Regions from separate parts of the Homo sapiens genome. Here region 2 is linked to region 1. The links are contacts of gene promoters, found by promoter capture Hi-C in blood cells and fetal thymus (Javierre and others, 2016). All regions are on one chromosome and are shown on one strand. The core of a region is centred on a gene start or on the middle of the fragment in contact, and the rest is flanking DNA. Distances in the headings are between cores, read along the strand shown.

Evidence for each region. Contacts are between HindIII fragments. The CHiCAGO score rates a contact against its expected background, and 5 or more counts as called.
Region 2: a fragment that was not itself captured here is called in contact with the fragment with the promoter of FAM43A in region 1 in 1 of 17 cell types (naive B cells); the score reaches 6.6 in naive B cells.

Annotation. Positions count from the first base shown.
Region 1 is chr3:194,683,519-194,687,154 of GRCh38, forward strand. FAM43A (family with sequence similarity 43 member A) reads left to right here and starts at 2,365. Exons shown (of 1, transcript NM_153690.5): 1 at 2,365-3,636. The coding sequence starts at 3,309. It overlaps LOC124909474, which reads right to left and starts at 3,391. Exons shown (of 3, transcript XM_047449428.1): 1 at 2,342-3,391; 2 at 1,820-1,900. The coding sequence starts at 2,735. RefSeq lists enhancers at 2,095-2,454, 3,206-3,636 and a silencer at 3,195-3,384. The HindIII fragment of the contact is 4,459 bases long and covers 1-3,636 here.
Region 2 is chr3:194,903,243-194,907,004 of GRCh38, forward strand. No RefSeq gene overlaps it. Among named protein-coding and RNA genes, the nearest start is that of LINC01972, 140 kb to the left of the region's middle. The HindIII fragment of the contact is 2,234 bases long and covers 1,168-3,401 here.

The sequences.
Region 1 (3,636 bases), core at 1,115-3,614:
TCCTTCATTGCCACTACAAGATAGCCTAGAAATTTAAGGAATTAATGTTGCCTTAAATGGCTTATTATAGTACTAACTACCTCATTCCAACAGCATGTCTGGTATCCCTCCATTAACCCATCAGTGCAGCTGAGGAGTAAGGCATTATAGCTCTGGTTGAAGGACCCTGTGGGGCCAGTTAGCCATGAAGAGGCCATTCCTTCCCTTGGAGTGTAAGAGAGCCAAAAAACACAATCAGGAAGGTTTATTCTTTGATTGTTACAAGCTCCATCTTAATTACTACATGTGTATGCATTTTCTTTCTTTCTTTCTTTCTTTTTTTTTGAGACGGTCTCACTGTGTCATCCAGGCTGGAGTGCAGTGGCGCGATCTCGGCTTACTGCAACCTCCGCCTCCCGGGTTCAAGGGATTCTCCTGCCTCAACTTCCCAAGTAGCTGGAATTACAGGCGTGCACCACCATGCCCAGCTAATTTTTGTATTTTTAGTAGAGATAGAGTTTTGCCATGTTGGCCAGGCTGGTCTTGAACTCCTGACCTCAAGTGATCCACCCGCCTCAGCCTCCCAAAATGCTGGGATTACAGGCGTGAGCCACCGCGCCTGGCCTTATGCATGCATTTTCATGCTTCTGTAATTTTGCTACCCTCTATACCCATAAAGCCCTTCAGTCTTTTCCTATTTGGATAAATTCTGTTTATCTTTCAAAGGTCACCACCTCCATGAAGCCTTTTCTGATTTTCCTAGTCACAATGAATGCTTTCTTCCTCCAGCTTCTCATAGTGCTTTGAGTCTTTCTCATAGCATTTAGCCCACTCTGTCTTCTTGTCCACATGCATATCTTGCTCATTAATTCTAGTTACTGAGTGCCTATTTGTACCATATTGGGGATACAGGGTACTTGCAGAGAACCCACAGTCCAGTGGAAACCCAGAGTTGGGTAGAGTTTACAACCTTCATTGGACTAGGAGGCAGGAATCCCGTCTGCTCCTAGCTCAGGGCCGGGCACCAAAAGGTAGTCAGAAAAGTAACTTAAATGGAAACTCAGCAAAGTAACTTAAATGGAAACTCAGCATCAACGACTCTGAGAAAATTGAGTTAGATTTCAAAGGAAGGTTAAAAGTTGGCAAAGGTAGAGGGTGGGCAGGGGTCAGTTTTATTTTGTTGGAATATCCCAAGGGAATTTCCAGGTATGGTTGCAGTGACTCTGGCATGAAGACCTGGCGTGGAAGCCAGAGACATCAAAGATCCCCAGGGGACTGGGATGGTGGGAAGGGATCACTGTCCTCCTCCAGGACCAGGCTGGGAGTTTGATGCAGGATCATTCGGACATTGATCCCACTCCAGCCATACGTCTTTTTGCTTTGACTGACCATACCATAGAGGCAAGCAGGCTGTTTCAAGGGCCCAGAAATGAGTTACTGGCTAAGGGTCAAGCCGGTCAGAAGACAACTACACTGTCCAGTTGGCACATGATAAAAGCAATACTGATGCAATTATCACTCCCATTGGAGGGTGGCCTGGCATTATTTGTCACTTAAATAAAAAACGTCATTTGAATTTTTACTAGGAATTCTCATCCAAAATATGTCAATGATAGAATGAAACCGCATGACCGGCTTGCCAAAGTAAACTAAGTCCTAACGACACACGAGCATTAGAAATTGTGTGTATCTCAGAAAACTGCTCTACCCTGAGGCCTGACAGCAGGAGGGGGTCTTGCCGGGGTTCGGACGGGGAAAAGCCTTATTCATTGACGGTATTCTACAGTAGTCACCCCAATCATGTTACCACTCACCTCACTTTACACTGTCTGCTGCTTACCTGTGAATACGAGCTCAAGATAGTGAGAGATAAGCCTTGGTGTTTTCTGTGCCTCTCTCTTTTCTTTAATGGAATACAATTCTGAAAATAATATTAAACAGCACCCAGTCATTCTCAGAAAGCCGTCACACAAGGAAGAAACCACTATTTTCCCAAACTTTTTGTACAGGAAATTATAATCTGTAATCTCATCTTCTGCCACCTCCCTCAGAAGTTTCGATCTAGACATACATGTATTCAGTGAGTGGCAATTCAGCCTGGGGGGTGGAGTGTCAGGATTCAAATCTTTTTGCTGCGGGGTAACCCCAGGTCCCAGTGATTTCCATAGACAAAAGAGATGCTGGTAAATTTGGGATGTAATTGGAGGATTGGACCGGTCTCCCCGCTCCCTCGACCAATGGCTGTCACGCGGTCCCTTTAAGAAACCAGGAATCCGCCCGGAGTCGGAGCCCAAAACAGATCCTCTTCTCTGCTCCTCCCCTGTCCCCGCGCGGCGAATGGTTCGCGCCGGCCTATATTTACCCGAGATCTTCCTCCCGGACGGCAAGGATGTGAGGCAGGCGAGCCGGACGCCGCTCGCAGCACCGGAGAGGGCGCACTGCAAAGGCGGGCAGCAGACCGTGGAGAGCCCGGGAGCGGAGCTGGACACCGCCTCGGAGGGAAGAAATGAGGTAGCGGCGGTTCCCGGACCCGGCCATGCCCGTCCCCTGTTCTCGGAGCCCAGCGCCGTCTCGGCCAGGCCAGCCCGGACACTGAGCGGGCCGAGCGCGAGTCCCCGGCGTCCGGCGGAGCGAAGATGCAGTGAGTCCCCGCGGGACTGCTGCGCGGGGCCCGCCGCGGCCAGCCGGACCCAGCATCCGACCGCACTTTGGGCGAGCTGCTGACTTGAGACCAGCCCAAACGGGGGGCTTTCCATCTCCAGCACCCCTCGGAGGTGGGGAGCACCGGCCCCTAGGCACACTCGCTGTAGAGTTTCCGCGGGTTTTGGCCCCAGTCCTGAGGGTTGTGTGTGTTAGGGGACCCACCTCACGTTCGCCGAGGAGTTCCTGCATATTCTTGCACCATCCCGGGTGCTGTTGCTGGGGCTCTCTTTATTTGCACGCGCGCTTCTAGCTTTTTTCCTGACATTTTCCACTCTACGCTCGTTCTTTCTCCCTTGCATTTTGTTGCTTGCCTGAGACTCTTTGCTCTCGCCCTTGCCCAGGCTGGGGTAATTCTGTGTGCGCGCGTGTCTCCCCCGCACCAACCTTTTTTGCACACTCGAAGCTGAATATTTTCTTTTTTAGAGAATTTACCCGCACCTCCTGCGGGGTTCCTAAGCACTCTCTCTGCTCCCCTCCCCCCAACTCCCTACCACAGGGCCGCTCCCAGTAGTTTTATTCTTCGATCTTGCCCGGGCCGAGCCTGGCAGGGGCCGGTGGCTCAGCGGGCCTCGCACCCGGCGCTCCGCCGCCGCCGCCGCCCAGCTGCGCCGGGGCGCCCTCCGGAGATGCTGCCGTGGAAGAAGCACAAGTTCGAGCTGCTGGCCGAGGCGCCGCCGCGGCAGGCGTCCAAGCCCAAGGGCTACGCTGTGAGCCTGCACTACTCGGCGCTCAGCTCGCTGGCGCGGGCGTGCCCCGAAGGCGCGCTTAGCCGGGTGGGCAGCATGTTCCGCTCCAAGCGCAAGAAGCTGCACATCACTAGCGAGGACCCAACTTACACCGTGCTCTACCTGGGCAATGCCACCACCATCCAGGCGCGCGGCGACGGCTGCACCGACCTTGCTGTGGGCAAGATCTGGAGCAAGAGCGAGGCGGGCCGTCAGGGCACCAAGATGA
Region 2 (3,762 bases), core at 1,035-3,534, 220 kb after region 1:
AAACAAATAGAAACTCTTAAGTTATGGAAATTTTATTAGAAAATTATGAATACATAAAAGATATTCTACTAATTATGAGACATTTTCAATTAAGCCACCAAACAATTGCTTATAGAATACAAGATGTTTTAATAATATCAAAAACCAACTGATTCAACATTTGTTAAATTCCAAGTACTTTTCTTTAGCTTTGTAAAATCGTACACTATAGAAGATACTGCCTGATATGGTTTGGCTCTGTGTCCCCACTCAAATCTCATCTTGTAGCTCCCACAATTCCCACATGTTATGGGAGGGACTGGGTGGATGATTAAATCACGGGGGTGGGTCTTTCCCATGATGTTCTGATGATAGTGAATGGGTCTCATGAGATCTGATGGTTTTAAAAACAGGAGTGTCCCTGCACAAGCTCTCTTTCTTTGCCTGCTGCCATCCATGTAAGACGTGACTTGCTCCTCCTTGCCTTCCACCATGATTGTGAGGCCTCCTCAGTCACATGGAACTGCAAGTCCATTAAACCCTTTTTCCTGTATAAATTACCCAGTCTTGGGCACATTTTTATCAACAGCATGAAAACAGACTAATACACTGCTCAATTAATTTTTTGTGTACAAGTTGTCTGAAAAGACTCTCAAATTTACAAAGAAATGTCAATTTACGCCCTACAAAACCAAATTCATGGTGTAGGTATCTTTTGTATCTGTCAAATAAGAATTTCAGCTAAGCATGAAAATTTAGTTTCTAGCATGATAGACAGTGCTCCAGCTATGTTAGATTAAAAATCCAGATTCACTGGAATTCTAAAACAAGAGGCCAATGTTTTCATTTATGAAAATATTTTTCTGTAGCCTTCTAAAGAAGCGTCTATGGGGAGAGTCATACATAGAGGTGTTCTAACCATTCAGTACACATGTGCAAATGTGTGAATTATTGCCAGTTTATGGAAAGGACTAAAAATTAAAAGACAGTAAATTGAATGATCTTGTGTTCTTTACCAATGTCTATAGGTTGAATGGTGGAAGAATTTTAGAAGGATTTGCTGTGCTAATTCCAATTCAAAAATTTTCTTTAACAAAAAGCAATGCTTGCTAAACACTAAATCATCAAAGACAAAATATAGCATTATCACACTGCATATGAATGAGTTAAATTTGAAAGGAAAAGAAAAGCTTATTTGTTACCTAGTTAGTCAGGTATAAAAATTTATGCTAAAATTGATGATAATTTTTACAATAAATATCAATAATAATGATTGTGTATATTTCTAACATGAAGATTTTAATTGAAAGCAATAGCATAATTTAAGTTGACTGCAAAAACTACACGAAAATTTGAAGTATGGGCTGTTGGCATGCTTTGTAGGTAAATTAGTTACTTTTCAATATATGCAATATTTCTTTGAATTCTGTGCTAATAATACTAAGTTGTTCCAGGAGTTAGAGTCATTTAACTCAGACAGAAGTAATTTTGAAACTAATATGTTTTTGCTTCAAAGTTACATTAATTCTTCAAAAAAAGATGAACCAGTTTTTTGATGTAAATATGAATATTAAAGAAAAGTGAATTTTTGATATTTGATTCCATTACTGATAAATTTGTTTTCTTTTTTCTTTATTAACTCTTATTTTAAGTTGAGAGTTACATGTGCAGGTTTGTTATACAGGTAAATTTGCGTCTGGGGGTTTGTTGTACAGATTATTTTTTCACCCATGTATTAAGCCTAATACTCACTGTTATTTTTCCTGATCCTTTCCCTCCTCCCACCGTCCACCCTCCAATAGACCCCAGTGTGTGTTGTTCCCCTCTATGTGTCTATGTGTTCTCATCATTTAGCTCTCGCTTATAAGAAAGAACACGTGGTATTTGGTTTTCTGTTCCTGCATTATTTTTCTAAGGATAATGGCCTCCTACTCCATCCATGTTCCTGCAAAGAACATGATCTTGTTCTTCTTCATGGCTGCATAGTACTCCATGGTGTATATGTACCACATTTTCTTTATCCAGTCTACAATTGATGAGCATTTAGGTTGATTCCATGTCTGCTATTGTGAATAGTGCTGCAATGAATATATGTGTGCATATGTCTTTATAATAGAACAATTTACACTCTCTTAGGTATATACCCAGTAATGGGATTTTGGGATCTTGTAAGTATATTTGAAACAACTTGAATATGTGAGTCTCTGTAAACTTTATGAAATCTAAATACAGATCAAATATTTCCAGGGAAAATTTAGTGCCTAAATTAAGATGTGCTCTAAACATAAAATACACAGTGGATATTCATGACTTTGTTTCAAAAAAAGCAAAATATCTCATCATTAATTTTTTATATTGAGTACATACTGGAATAATAATATTTTGGATCTATTGAATTAAGTGTGTTGTTAAAATTAATTTCTTCTGTTTATTTTTGTTTTCTTAATGTGGCCATCAGAAAACTTAAACTCACATCTGCATCTCATATTCCCGTTCTATTGGATAGCACTAGAGTATGCATCCTTCACTGGGGCTTGTGTCTGAATAGCTACAATATATATTACCACTTGTACCATGCCAGAGATTGTGCTAAGAGCTTCACAAACATATTTAACCTCAAAACAACTCAACCTCAAAACCACACACATTTAACCACAAAACAACAATGAGGTAAGTTTACTGATAGGAAAATTGAGGCTCAAAGATGTTAGGTAATTTGCCCAGGGTCACACATCCAGTAAGTACAACCAGACTTCCAACTCAGAATCCCCAAATCTATGCCTTTAGTCAGAACTGTGGCATCCATTACTCGCCCACTATTGGTGCTTCCATGCAGGAATTCCTTCTCTGCATTTCTCAGGAAATGTATGTTTCCCAAATAGTAAGAAAAATCAATCAAGGAATTGAGAAAATAGAAAAAAAGTATTATAATTCTTTTTTGAGAATCAAAGATCAACAATTAACATAGAAATATTCCTGGTCAAAGGCATCTGCTGATGTCATGTCAAAAGCAAGAGCAAGAAACATTGACACACGAAGTTCAAGGCTAAGGTCAAAATTTCCTGGAACAGGGACAGGAGCACACAGAAGAGAAGTGGCCACAATCTCACTGGCCAGTCTTGCCTGTAGCTACCGTCTTGTCATCAACGTGTGTTCCTGGATTTTCTGCTGCAAACAGTGAGTCACTCCTCCAAATACAATAACTATTACTGTGTTTATATTATAGTAAACATTATGCAAATTCTATGAATGGTATTCAGAGAAAGAACAAGTTTTGGAAACAAAGAAAGTCTTTGAATTGGCAATTCCCACAGATGATTCTGAGAGGCCCTGTTAACCTTGCGAGGAAATCAGATGTTACATTAGTCAATACTACCCAGTGAGGTTCACTGGTGATTTCCAGCATTTGAATATTTCCAGGAAGCTTTAGTTTTTTACACCTACTACCAAAGTGTAAATGCTTTATAAATATTACCAAATACAAATATTTTACAAAGGCTACCAAACTTAATATTTCTTCTTATTTGTTAAATAAAAATTTTTAGATATCCATAGTAATGAAGAAAGAGCATGAAGAATGTTGGAGAATCTTTTTTAAATAACTTATAATTTTGGTAATTCTGGAGAATTCCCAGAAATTCCTATTTTTTTATGCCAAAATCCCAAAGATCAATGTCTGTCAAGAATTTGGAAATAGCTCCTGGCATCTTAGGCCTTTAAGACTGTTCATTGAAGGAAAGAATAAAGGAAGGGACAGGATCCACAGCACTGCGGTATTTCTCG